Linked DNA regions of Homo sapiens: all the other regions are linked to region 1. Evidence: promoter capture Hi-C in human tissues and cell types (Jung and others, 2019). All regions are on one chromosome and are shown on one strand. Each heading gives the region's core, a stretch centred on a gene start or on the middle of the fragment in contact. The rest is flanking DNA. Distances are from core to core; before and after follow the strand shown. Region 1 holds the start of SHROOM3 (shroom family member 3). Region 2 overlaps SHROOM3 (shroom family member 3). Region 3 overlaps SCARB2 (scavenger receptor class B member 2).

The links. Contacts are between HindIII fragments. The study calls those that stand out against the background at their distance.
Region 2: a fragment that was not itself captured here is called in contact with the fragment with the promoter of SHROOM3 in region 1 in 1 of the 25 tissues and cell types used here (mesendoderm cells).
Region 3: a contact is called between a fragment that was not itself captured here and the fragment with the promoter of SHROOM3 in region 1, in 1 of the 25 tissues and cell types used here (thymus).

The regions. Positions count from the first base shown.
Region 1 is chr4:76,433,250-76,437,855 of GRCh38, forward strand. SHROOM3 (shroom family member 3) reads left to right here and starts at 1,980. Exons shown (of 11, transcript NM_020859.4): 1 at 1,980-2,971. The coding sequence starts at 2,804. The HindIII fragment of the contact is 12,167 bases long and covers 1-4,606 here.
Region 2 is chr4:76,774,570-76,779,175 of GRCh38, forward strand. It overlaps SHROOM3 (shroom family member 3), which reads left to right. Exons shown (of 11, transcript NM_020859.4): 11 at 4,240-4,606. The region is part of intron 1 of SHROOM3-AS1 (SHROOM3 antisense RNA 1); the gene reads right to left. Among named protein-coding and RNA genes, the nearest start is that of SHROOM3-AS1, 26 kb to the right of the region's middle. The HindIII fragment of the contact is 8,803 bases long and covers 1-4,606 here.
Region 3 is chr4:76,170,407-76,175,012 of GRCh38, forward strand. SCARB2 (scavenger receptor class B member 2) reads right to left here. Exons shown (of 12, transcript NM_005506.4): 7 at 3,738-3,907. Among named protein-coding and RNA genes, the nearest start is that of NUP54, 24 kb to the left of the region's middle. The HindIII fragment of the contact is 8,018 bases long and covers 1-4,606 here.

The DNA of each region.
Region 1 (4,606 bases), core at 730-3,229:
TAAATTTCATGCCTGCCTGTGTTGCTTGCAGGATTACTCTGGTCAGATCATTTAACCTTCTGGTGGCCTCTGTGTCCTTACCTCTAAAATCAAGGGTGTGGGAGGATTGTCTCTTGCAGCTTTAACATTCTTTGAATCTGATCAACAGAAGATGGAGGAAAAAAGTTCTTCCAAACCTGGTCTATCAACTGCTATAGTGAAGGTCCACAAAATGAAGTTTTACATTTTTTTTTCAGATTACATATCAATTTTGGTTCTATGTTTGTTTCTTCAATATTTTTGGTGATAATCTAAAATGGAGATTTCATCAGTCTGCAAGCACTGGGTTCATATTATCTTTTCCTTATTTCCTTTGCCTTTAGCTTCATTACTTTTTTTGTTTATTATTTTTTAAATTGACAACTAAAAATTATATATACTTATGGTGTACCACATGATGTTTTGATATAAGTATGCATTGTAAAATGGCTAAATCAAGGAATTAACCTATTACCTCACATACTAATTTTTTTTGTGGTGAGAGCACTTAAAATCTAATCTTAGCAATTTCCAAATATACAATACATTGTTATAACTATGGTCATCATGCTGTACAATAGATCTCTTGAGCTTATGCCTCCTAACTGAAATTTTGTATAGCTATGTTACTTTTAATATTAAATGTGGATTCTGTAAAATCCCAGTTTTTACAAAATGTATTAGGAGTAACATAATAAGAGCCTCATAAATTAATTTTTTCAGAAAGAAAGCTGTTCATTTACCTAGGACTTTTATTTAAAATACATATGTTCTTTGAAATGAAAGAAAAGCTAATGTTTCTCCATTTATTCTAACTTACAAATTAAGCTGTAAAAGAAAACCACAATAGAAATTGCGTAAATTACCCTTAAGAATCAGCCAATTTTTACCACATACTTTCATTTGGTACACCTTAGGTTTCCTTATGTTTCCATTCACATACTACCATTACATAAGGTTTTACTTTTTTTTTTTTTTTTTTGTCTTTGAGCCCTTCAAGTGAAGTTACCATTGAAAATCAAACAATACCTGTCCAGTGTTGTAAATTAAATATCGTGTAGTTTGATATCATATACCTGCCTTTCCATATCAGCCTTTCATTAATTATAAGTACAAACACCAAAATAATTGTTATCAAGCCCCACAGTAGTTTTTAACTTCAGTTTTCAACTTAATTCTCATTATCCCATACTTTTAAACAGAAAAAAGTTTTAGTACATATATTACCTGGAAGTAATTCTAATCTGTTCCAATAACTAAATAGCTGAGGCTTCTGGGTTAGATATGGTTATCTTCTACTGTTCAAATTTTTAATACAAAGCATGAATGTTAAATTTGTATATAACATTATTACAAAATGACACTGGTAACATGAAATCAGAACAACATTCTTTCCCGAGTACCTAGTACTTACCCACAAGGCATTGTAGATTTCTTTTCATTTAAAGAGTGGATAACAATCTTGGAGTAGATAACAATGAAAACCTAGAAAAAAAAACCCACCTCCTGTTTTTATTGAGTCAAACAAGCAGAACTTTGATTGGAAAGTCCCATTTCATATATTACACTGGTAGTATTTTCTTCTAACGAAAAAAAAAAAGCCCTTGTGCCACCACCTTGACATGTACTTAAACGTTTACCCAAATCACTTAGGCATTGCTTCTCAAACTTGGCTGCATAGCAGAATTGCCTGGAGGGTTTTTAAAAACACAAATGCCTATGTCTCACTCCCTGAAATTCTCCTTTAATTGGTACGAGGCGGGGCTATTCTAGGAACTATTTTCTATCCCTTGGCAATTAGCCATCTGTATAGTATTTTTAACTTCCTACGTGTTATTAACTGTAAGACTGTTTGAATTGTCAGGTCTTTGTGGTGAGCTGAATTCTGCATGGCAGTGCTTACTGTGCAGAAAGGTTGCAATGCCTCACTTTGCCTTAATCCATGTTCCTCTAACTTCCTTACTCTTTCTCTCAAGAGGAGGCAAGTGGCTGTGGCGGCCGCAGCAGTGGCTGATCATCACTGAAAATACCAAAGAAAAGAACTGAGCTGCCTCCTTCATATTTTTTCCATTGAGGATTAATTTACCGTGCTTTTTCATTTTCTCTACATCCTGCAAAAGTTTTTTTCTCTCCTAAGAAACAAACTATGAACTGATTGTTGAAAAAAAGAAGTAAAAAGTTTTAGCACAGCTTCTCTGTCTCTTCGGGACAAGTTAGAAAATTCTGAAGTGAGCCGAAGCATAGTAAGTGCTTTCTTTCTTTTTAAGCTACTTCTGGGGAGGGAGGAGGCTATTGTAATGGTAAATTTCACTCCGAGAGGAAGAAAGGGTTGATAATCAATCAAAAATGAGGTATTCCTTTGAGTATTTGTGATTTTCTTACTATATTGTAAGATGCTTTTAATTTTCTCTGTAAAATAGGCAGAAATGGTTTTAGTGTGTGTATGTGTGAAATAAAAGCTCAGAAAAGCAATCTTCAGAGCGCCACTGAAGGAAGTTTTGACGAACGGAGTAGAGATGTATACCACTTGGGGGCTTCAGTGAGAACCCAGAATTCCTGGAGGAGGATTTACATTCAGAAATGTTGAAGTGAAAATTCCTTCTGGTTCAGCATCTTGGAGTTCAGCTTGGAAGAACATTTTACGTATGGAAGAATTTGCTTCTCCAAACCTCTCTTTTGGCCATTGTGTGTCCTGAAGGATGGGACAACTTGTGCTGTAGAAGCACTGCTTGCCTGAGTTTGCTTCAGGCATTTTAAATTTAACTTGAGGGATCATGTGTTTGGCATGATGAGGACCACTGAAGACTTCCACAAGCCTAGTGCCACATTAAACTCTAACACGGCCACCAAGGGAAGGTACATTTATCTGGAGGCATTCCTGGAGGGAGGAGCTCCCTGGGGTTTTACTCTAAAGGGTGGCCTGGAGCACGGAGAACCATTAATCATCTCTAAGGTATGTTTCTTTTTCCAATATTGCCTTTATTCAAATTGTTTTTTTCAACTTGTCAGATTTGTCAAAAATGCAAAATAATGAGAACTGCCTTAATATAACTTAATTTGCTGTTTCATGCCTTTCTGATTATCTAGAAATATTTTGGATAGCCTGGGATTTGAAAGAAAAATGTGTCTAGCTCATTTATTCTATGAAATCCGAAGAAAAATATGCCTGTTTGATGGATAATCTTCTCTTTTTGTGAATGAAATCGCATACAATCAGTTACCACATGAGCTTTTCAGTTATAAATCAGATTAAAGATTAATAACATGGTTAAGATGGTGGCATGGTATATATTTGTGCATTCAAAAATATCTGCTTTTTCTCTCTTCAACTGAAAATAGCATCTAAAAATATTTTAAGTTTGCTTATAATTCTGGATAATAGATTGCATAAATACCATGTGTTGCTTTTTTTCCCCACACTCAGAAAGGAGAATTAAATCAGCTTTCAGCATAACTCAAGATCAAAACATTTCTGCCTCTCCTATTTATCTGTATATTTGAATCCCTTTTTAAACCTTAGTCATCCTGCAGCATACCTCAATTCTTCATTTATCTTTTGGTGTGGGTAGTCATACCAATGAAATATTTATGTACTGGGGTTAATATTTCTATTTTTCTCTTAAACTACAGATTAACATTACTTGTTATAATATTGCTTTTAAATTTTTAGAGTATTTAATAGTCTGATACAATAGATTATAATGGCTTTTCACACATGTGCATTCATCAAGAAACATTTGTAATTAAGGGAGAAAAAATTTTTAATTTGAGGGTGGGAAGAAGGTAATATGGATTGCATTTGAGCTCTGTTATTGGTTCAGGTTACTTTTCATATCCCCAGAAATAATTCCAAAAGGTTATTTTTCAAATTACTGAAGTAATTCTTACTGTGGATGAGCCAGGGAGAACTGGGTTTCACAGTGATAAGCCACGAGTGCACGGGACACCATTATAAGTTGTATGACTTTTCCTTAACTTTCTTAAGTAAAACAAAAGGATGTGCATATGTGTGTGTCAGTTAGGAAGGCTTCCCCCTGTGAAAAAAATTCAAAACCGAGTTTATAGTGGCTCTCAGTAAATTGGGGTTTGTTTTTCTCATATTACAAGAAGTTTGGAGGTAGATTTTCCAGGCAAGGGGAGCAGCAGCTCAATAATGTGATCAAGGACCCCACTTATCTCTCCACTCTGCCATTCTTATGATGTTGGCTTTGTCTTCATGGTTGCATGATGGATCCCACAACTCCAGCATTGATTGCATCTTCATTCCAGACAGGTTTTTGGCTTTTTGTTTCTCATTAGACCTTTGCTTTCATCTCATTAACCAGAACTGTACCCTGTGCCTGTCTTTAGGCCAATCACTGGTAAGAAATGCCAGTGATTAATACAGACTGATTAGGATTTCTTTCACAGGTTTCTACAATAAGGACCTACTCTTCCTGAAGTCAAGGAATCATTGCCCACTGTTTGAATGATTTGAGGTTCTTTTTGCAGGAAGAAAGAGGGCATGGTTGCTGAATAACAGATAATTCTGCAATGAACATAAATATTGTCTCGGCATTTAAAAAGTCTAGTTGTACACAATTTGCCT
Region 2 (4,606 bases), core at 686-3,185, 340 kb after region 1:
TTATACATTACTGATGTCTAAAATATTTTATATATTTTTTAAGGTAGGTGATGAAAAAATTCTCAATTTTTTAACTTACATCTCAATGATACTTTGAAAGGCATCCTCATTCAAATTCAGTCCCTCAGGGTTTTTTGGGGTTTTTTTTTTGTTTTTTTTTTTTTTAAGGTATGTTTTTCTGCTTAGGGAAAGGAAACTTATGCCAATAAGCCTGTAATTCTTCACTTTTCCCCCAGGCATTATTATGTAAGATGTGACAGGCTAGTTTAGGGGGATTTAGGGCAAAGACACATGAGTCTTTGATAACCCTACATAAGCTATTTTGTATTGAGGTATACTTAAGTGATCTTATTTCTTGATTGATTTTCATTTTAATTTTCCACAATCACTTTTTTTTTATTTCAATAGGTTTTTGGGGAACAGGTGGTGTTTTGTTACATTGATAAATTCTTAGTGGCGATTTCTGTGATTTTGGTGCCTCCATCACCCGAGCACTGTACACTGTACCCGATGTGTAGTCTTTTATCCCTCACCCACCTCCCACCCTTCCCGCTGAGTCCCCGAAGTCCTTTGTATCCTTCTTATGCCTTTGCATCCTCAATAGCTTAGCATCCACTTAAAACTGAGAACATAAAACGTTTGGTTTTCCATTCCTGAGTCACTTCACTTAGAATAATGGTCTCCAACTCCATCCAGGTTGCTGTAAATGCCATTATTTTGTTCTTTTTTATGGCTGAGTAGTAGTCCATGGGGTGTGTGTGTGTGTGTGTGTGTAAACCACAATGTGATACCACCTTACTCCTGCAAGAATGGCAATAAAAAAAAATACATGTTGGCATGGATGTGGTGAAAAGGGAACACTTTTACACTGCTGGTGGGAATGTAAACTAGTACAACCACTATGGAAAACAGTATGGAGATTCCTTAAAGAACTAAAAGTACATCTATCATTTGATCCAGCAGTCCCACTACTGGGTATCTATCCAGAGGAAAGAAGTAATTATATGGAAAAGACACTTGCACACTCATATTTATAGCAGTACAATTTGCAACTGCAAAAAAGGGAACCAGCCCAAATGCCCATCAATTAACAAGTGAATAAAGAAAATGTGTGTGTGTGTATATATACATAACATATTTGTATATGTGTATATACACATATATACACATACTATATATATACACACACCATATATATGTGTACATACACATATATACACATATATATACACACATACTATATATATACACACACACACACACATACATATATACACACATACCACATTTTCTTTATCCACTTGTTAATTGATGGGCATTTGGGCTGGTTCCCTTTTTTGCAGTTGCAAATTGTGCTGCTATAAACATGGGTGTGCAAGTTTCTTTTCCATATAATTACTTCTTTTCTCTGGATAGATACCCAGTAGTGGGATTGCAGGATCAAATGATAGATGTACTTTTCATTCTTTAAGGAATCTCCATACTGTTTTCCATAGTGGTTGTGCTAGTTTACATCCCCACCAGCAATGTAAAAGTGTTCCCTTTTCACCATATCCATGCCAACATATATTAGTTTTTGATTATGGCCATTCTTGCAGGAGTAAGGTGGTATTGCATTGTGGTTTTGATTTGCATTTCCCTGATAGAACTGTTCAGCAGTTTTTCACGTTTGTTGACCATTTGTCCATCTTCTTTTGAGAATTGTCTATTAATGTCCTTTGCCCACTTTTTGATGGGATTTTTTCTTGCTGATTTATTTGTAGATTCTGGATATTAGTTCTTTGTTGGATACATAGTTTGCAAAGATTTTCTCCCACTCTGTGGGTTGTCTGTTTACTCTGCTGTTTTTATTTTGCTGTGCAAAAGCTCTTTAGTTTAATTAAGTCCTATCTATTTATCTTTGTTTTTGTTGCATTCCCTTTTGGATTCTTTGTCATGAACTCTTTGCCGAAGCCAATGCCTAGAAGATTGTCTTCTTTCCATCTAGCTATTTTAGGCTAAGAGAAAAATGAAAGACTAATTACAAAAACCGTGGAGTTTAATTTCTGTTGTGCAAAAGAAGCAGTAGACGCTTAATATAAATGAATTCAAACTAGAAGCCACTAAGACATGTACTTCCTTCCTTCAGTTAAATATATCTTCTAGAATTTTTATGGCTTTAGGTCTTAGATTTAAGTCCTTGATCCATCTTGAATAGATTTTTGTGTAAGGTGAGAGATGAGGATCTACTTTCATTCTTCTACATGTGGCTTACCAATTATTCCAGCACCATTTGTTGAATAGGGTGACCTTTCTTCACTTTGTTTTTGTTTGCTTTCTCGAAGATCAGTTGGCTGTAAGTATTTGGCTTTATTTCTGGGTTCTCTATTCTGTTCCATTGCTCTATATGCCTGTTTTTACACTAATACCATGCTGTTTTGGTGACTGTGGCCTTGTAGTATAGTTTGAAGTTGGGTAACGTGATGCCTCCAGATTTGTTCTTTTTGCTTAGTCTTGCTTTGGCTATGCGGGCTCTTTTTTGGTTCCATATGAATTTTAGGATTGTTTTTTCTAGTTCTGTGAAGAATGATGGCGGTATTTTGATGGGAATTGCATTGAATTTGTAGACTGCTTTTGACAGTATGGTCATTTTCACAATATTGACTCTACCCATCCATGAGCACAGGATATGTTTCCATTTGTGTGTGTCATCTATGATTTCTTTCAGCAGTGTTTTATAGTTTTCCTTGCAGAGGTCTTTAACCTCCTTGATTAGGTATATTCCTAAGTATTTTATTTTTTTGCAGCTATTGTGAAAGTGGTTGAGTTCTTGATTTTATTCTCAGCTTGGTCGCTGTTGGTGTATAGCAGTGCTACTTATTTGTGTACATTGATTTTGTATCCTGAGACTTTACTGAATTCATTTATTAGATCTAGGAGCTTTTTGGATAGTCTTCAGGGTTTTCTAGGTATAGGATCATATCGTTGGCAAACAGCAACAGTTTGGCTTCCTCTTTACCAATTTGGATGCCCTTTCTTTCTTTCTCTTGTCTGACTGCTCTGGCTAGACCTTTTAGTACAATGTTGAATAGCAGTGGTGAAAGTGAGCACCCTTGTCTTGTTCCAGTTCTCAGGGGGAATGCTTTCAACTTTTCCTTGTTCAGTATAATGTTGGCTGTGGGTTTGTCTCCTCAGTTACTTTGCCTAAAATGTCTGAATGGTTAAATATAATTTTTTTAATTTAAAAATGATCATGTTGGAGAGAAAACCACATTAAAGATAACATATGCTACAATATCATAGAAAAGCATAAGAAACTCTTAGAATATGACATTGCCGTCATTGTTGAACAGAATTTCTCTCATTTTGGATCAGAGGCCTGCAAAAGAGAACTGAAAAAATGGAAACTGGCTTCTTTAGAGATGGGAAATATGATCTCATTGCTATTATGGATTAGGGAGAGGTTCTCAAACTTTAGCCGCAAAAGAATCATCTGGAAGGCTTGTTAAAACAGGTTGCTGGGCCTCACCTCCAGAGTTTTTTATTCAAGAGGTGGAAGAGGGCCTGAACCCTTGCATTTCTAACAATTTCCCAGGTGATGCCACTGCTGCTGGTCCAGCAACCACACCTTGAGAACCACCGTATTCATGTATATACTCAAGGTACCTTGATGATTTTTTTTTTTTTTTTTGAGACAAGAGTCTCACTCTGTCATCCAGGCTGGAGTGCAGTGGCACATCTCGGCTCACTGCAACCTCTGCCTCCTGGGTTCAAGCAATTCTCATGCCTCAGCCTCCCAAGTAGCTGGTATTACAGGCATGCATCACCATGCCTAGGTGATTTTTGTATTTTTAGTAGAGACGGGGTTTCACCATGTTGGCCAGGCTGGGTTTGAACTCCTGGCCTCAAGTGATCCATCCATCCCGGCCTCCCAAAGTGCTGGAATTATAGGCGTGAGCCACCAAGCCCAGCTGATGATTGGTTTTTAAAGTCAAGAATCTGAAAGCAATTTTATCTCCAGCCAATTTAATGTAACAGCTCTCAAACTGAAGCTATCCTATGATGTTACAATTTAGAGAATGCTGTAATATGTAATATAAGGATAATCTGATTTTCAAAAAGTTAGCCTCCTTACTTAGGAGTGACAATAGGAATAGAGCTTAGATATTTCCCAGTCCTGTCAGAGGTGTCCTTGCAGGGAGTCTGGCTCTTTTCTCCCTTTCCCTGGCCTTCATTGATCTGTCCAATTTTCCCTGGCAGAGCTCTCTTTACGAGAAAAGGAAGATCCTGGCTGGTCAGCATGAGGATGCCCGGGAGCTGAAGGAGAACCTGGATCGCAGGGAGCGAGTAGTGCTGGGCATCTTGGCCAATTACCTTTCAGAGGAGCAGCTCCAGGACTACCAGCACTTCGTGAAAATGAAGTCCACGCTCCTCATTGAGCAACGGAAGCTGGATGACAAGATCAAGCTGGGCCAGGAGCAGGTCAAGTGTCTGCTGGAGAGCCTGCCCTCAGATTTCATTCCCAAGGCTGGGGCCCTGGCTCTGCCCCCAAACCTCACGAGTGAGCCCATTCCTGCTGGGGGCTGTACTTTCAGTGGTATTTTCCCAACATTAACCTCTCCACTTT
Region 3 (4,606 bases), core at 1,009-3,508, 260 kb before region 1:
TGAAGGCAGAATACTAAGTGAATGAAGGGTGTTGTACCTCAAAGCACTAGTTTCAACTACAATTCTCTATCAGTAAGTGGACTGACTTTTTATTTCTTGTCCTTTTTAAAATTAAAAAAAAATTTTTGGTGGTTTTTTGTTTTGTTTTGTTTTGTTTTTACCAAAGACAGGCATAATCTCAGCTCACTGCAGCCTCCGCCTCCCAGGTTCAAGCAATTCTCCTGCCTCAGCCTCCCAAGTAGCTGGGACTACAGGCATGCACCACCACACCCGGATAATTTTTTTGTATTTTTAGTAGAGACAGCGTTTCACCATGTTGGCAAGGCTGGTCTTGAACTCCTTACCTCAAGTGATCTGCCCGCCTCAGCCTCCCAAAGTGCTGAGATTACAGGCTTGAGCCACCACACCTGGCCTACATAATTTTTTAAGAGTTAGCCTGGTTGTGCTATACACCCAGCCTCTAACCAGATCACAAAGATTCTGGGGTTTTTCCTTTCCTATTCATTTTAAGAACCAAATAAGTGCTTATGTAAATTTAAATATATATATATATATATATATATATAACCAAATAGGGAAACAAGTTACTAAAGGAAACCTATTCTAGATCTGGCTATTGAAAAGAAGAGAGGGACCCAACAATTGCTGCCAGGGAAATACATTTTTGGAGAAAGGAGCTTGTCGGCAAGTTATTTAAATTTGCTTACATATTCACCAGCCCATGGCTTAAGGAACTCATCCCTCATCTCTCACATGCACATGCATTTTGCTGTTTACTGCTGAATAGTTCCACAAAGGCATGACTTCCTTCTTTGTGACCTATAATGACCTTGAAAATGTATTTTTTAAATCTGTTGAGGGCTTAATAGGGGCTACTGTCCTGAGTGTTTTATATATATTATTTCTAACTCTCACACAACCTCAAGAAGCTATAACCACCTCCATTTTATTAATGAGAAAACTGATGTCTGGAACCCTCCTTAATAAACTTTGGCCAATTTACCAACAAATAGAATAGGACTCAAACCCAATCTGCCTGACTCCAGAACACTCATCCTGCTATCCAAAATGTTTCCCTGGAGAATTCAAAACACTGGAGGATAATCCTGGGGAGTTTCACTTCAGTCCAAATTCGGGAATACGTTAAGAGGGAAGAGGAAAAGGATTGTAGCAAGAAGTTTAAATGTGTAAAGTAGAATACTTCTGTTGATTCTGGCATCAGCTTCTTAAGGAAACAGAATTTAATAAAAACAGCAAGAGAAAATATATCTACATTTTTGCTTTGAGCCAGATGCACACCAGATGAGGGGGCAGGGACACTGTTTCAGGACTATTACCAGTAAGGCAATGGGGGAGATCACAACCAGGAACTTGTTCCCATTCACCCTTGGTCTTTATCTCCAGGTAAAGGGTACCATGTTCCCTTGCACAATGGTCCCCAAATACCTAGACGCCATCTTTATGGAAATCAGCTGGAGTACTTGTTAAAAGTGTAGATTCTGGGGCCCTGGTATATCCAACATGGGACCCTGGGACATACATGCATGTGTGTGCACCATGAGTGTGTGTGCACACTTGCGCACGTGTGTGTGTATACCTATATATATATACTATATACATATATATTAAAATATAGCAAATATAAGTATATGCAAATATATGCATATTTATATATAACTATAAAATTTGTTAATATACTCATATATTAACAAATATATTAACATATACATACATAAATATATACATGTGGCTGTTAAAACTAGTCTTCAAGATGAAAAATACTTTTGTCAGTTGTATATATATATGTATATATACACATATATATGATATACGTATATATAAACAATTTTTTATATATATATAATTTTTTTGTTTTTTGAGACCAGGTCTCACTCTGTTGCCCAGGCTGGAGTGCAGTGTTGCAATCATAGCTCACTGCAGCCTTGAATTCCTACGCTCCAGCCTCAGCCTCCTGGGTATCTGGAACTATAGGTGTATGCTACTATGCCCAGCTAATTTTTAAATTTTTTGTTCAGATGGGGTCTCCCTGTTGCCCATGCAGGTCTAAATTCTTGGCCTCAAGTGAGCCTCCTGCTTCAGCCTCCTAAAGTGTTAGGATTACAGGCATGATCCACCATGCCTCACCAATATATTTTTAATAACTCTCCAGATAATTCTGATGTAAAGCCAGGTGTGGGGGTCACTGCCCTGTCAGACAAGGATCAGGAGGTATACTGCTGACTTCAGACTTATTCCAAAATGATATCTTATTCTTTTTTTTTTTTTCTTTTTTAAAAGATGGAGTCTCGCTATGTTGCCCAGGCTAGAATCAAACTGGGCTCAAACGACCCTTCCACCATAGCCTCCTGAGTAGCTGGGTCTACAGGCACACGCCACCATGCCAGGCCTGAAAGGAGATTTTAAAATGAGATAGATAAGGGAGCAAAAGTGAGCACATTACTATTCAGGAGAAAGGGACTACACAGAGAGCTCTCCAGAGAAATTTTAAAGAGGAATTACAGCCCAAGAGGGAATCACAGGGCAAATATGAGAAGACCCTGAGTTCCGCCAGGGATCTGCTCAGAGGGAGGAGTCGCATCAAAATCACGTTCCCTCTCTGAGCCCTAGTTTCCCCAATTATAAAAACAGGCCGCTGAATGTCTACTATCTAGTAAGTTCATTGTGAATAATTCTGCAACATGTGGCTGTTAAAACTACTCTTCAAGATGAAGAAAATAGTTTTGTCAGTTGTGCCACTGATAATTCTGCCTCATTCATGGAAAGGAGCAGAGTAGCTCTGACATTAAGAAACACTGGGACATTTGTGTCAGGGTTTAAAACTAACTCTGCTTCAAAATCACTGAGAATCTTTGCCATGATACGTACTTTCTTAAAACTGAGTTGTCCACTTTTTCTTTTAGCTTTTTTTTTTTTTTGGTGGGGAGGTGCGGAATCACTCTATTGCCCAGGCTGGAGTGCAGCAGCACAATCATAGCACAGTGCAACCTCGAACTCCTGGGTTCAAGCAATCTCTCTGCCTCAGCCTCCTGAGCAGCTGTAACTACAGGTGTGTGCCGCCACACCCAGCTAATTTTTTAATTTTTTTTTTTTTGTAGAGACAGGGTCTTGCTATGTTGCCCAGGCTGATCTTGAACCCCTGGCCTCAAGCAATCCTCACATCTCGGCCTCTCAAAGTGCTGGGAATACAAGCATGAGCCACCGTGCCCAGCCTTAGCATTGTTTTGAACATGAAATCAGTTAATGTTTTGCATGCATTAACTACATGTAAATATGTAAAGCACTTAGGACAGTGACTGGCATACATCAGGTGCTTAGTAAACATGAGCTATTATTACTGTTAAGACTTCTAAACCACTGTCCAGAAAAAAAAACACAACATGGCATTCTAGAAATAAAAAGCATCACAGAAAAGCCATGATTTTTTTTTACCATTCAATAGCCATGTTATGAAACATTGTTCTTGAAAGAAACTGATCTTTCTATTGGGCTGACAATATATTCTTTTTTGTTTGTTTTGTTTTTTAGAGACAGTGGTCTCGCCATGTTGCCCAGGATGGACTTGAGAACTCCTGGGCTCAAGTGATCATCCCACCTCAGCATCCTTAGTAGCTGGGACTGTAGGTGTGCGCCACTACGCCCAGCTACATATTCTTTGTTGAACTCCAATCCTTCTGCATTCTTGACACCCCTATCATGTCCCCTCTCTGAGTTCTTACCATTCTTGCAGATGCTGACATTCAGAACTCCTGAGCCCAGGCAGTTTCCCTCAGGTATACAGAAGCCGGCATTGTCTGACGTATTGGCTAATATTTCTGCAGGAACTTTATACCGAAAGGCAGGCAGTCCCTGTACACTCTCATAGTCACTGAAAGTAATATACACTGACCTGTTAGGATGTAAGAATAAAAAGTGAATGTGGACTCTGGTCAGTGTAATCTGCCCGAAATCCGCAAGTTAGCAACAGTTCTCAGGTACAACATGGCCAAAAGCTCACAGGGTAAGTAGAAAGGAATGTTTGGAAGGCATTCTGTCAACTCAACGTGTAATAAAGCAGAAGATGAATTGTAGTGGAAGGTGTTTATTGTAGCAACGGTGATATCATCCAAACAAGAAAAAACAATATGTGGTACAAAATTAAGATGATAACATTTAGAATGGAGACTCACATAAAAAAGAAATAAGAGGCCTCTCTAGACCTGCATGGACATATGCCAGTGTGGACGGGCCACCGGCAAAGCCAGGGAAGCCAGGGCACGGCAGAGCCAAAGCTAAGGTAGAACAGGCAGCGATGGCCGTGGCCTCGTAGGGTCTTAGGCACTTGAAAAGTGTCACATTGGACAGATACTTTATTGGAATACACACTTTGATACTCAATCCCCCCCTCCAAGAAAAATCAGATTCCATATTTTGCCCCAGTCATTTATTTAAATGGAGTTCAACGTAATTCTGCCTTTCATTCTTACTGATTTCAAACATAGTCCCATGTAATATGACCACTGCTTACACTGCATAGTGCCTAACCACTTTGATGTACACAGTCACCACTGAGCCTTCAGCCCTTCCTTTGAAGGCTGGCCGGAAGAGC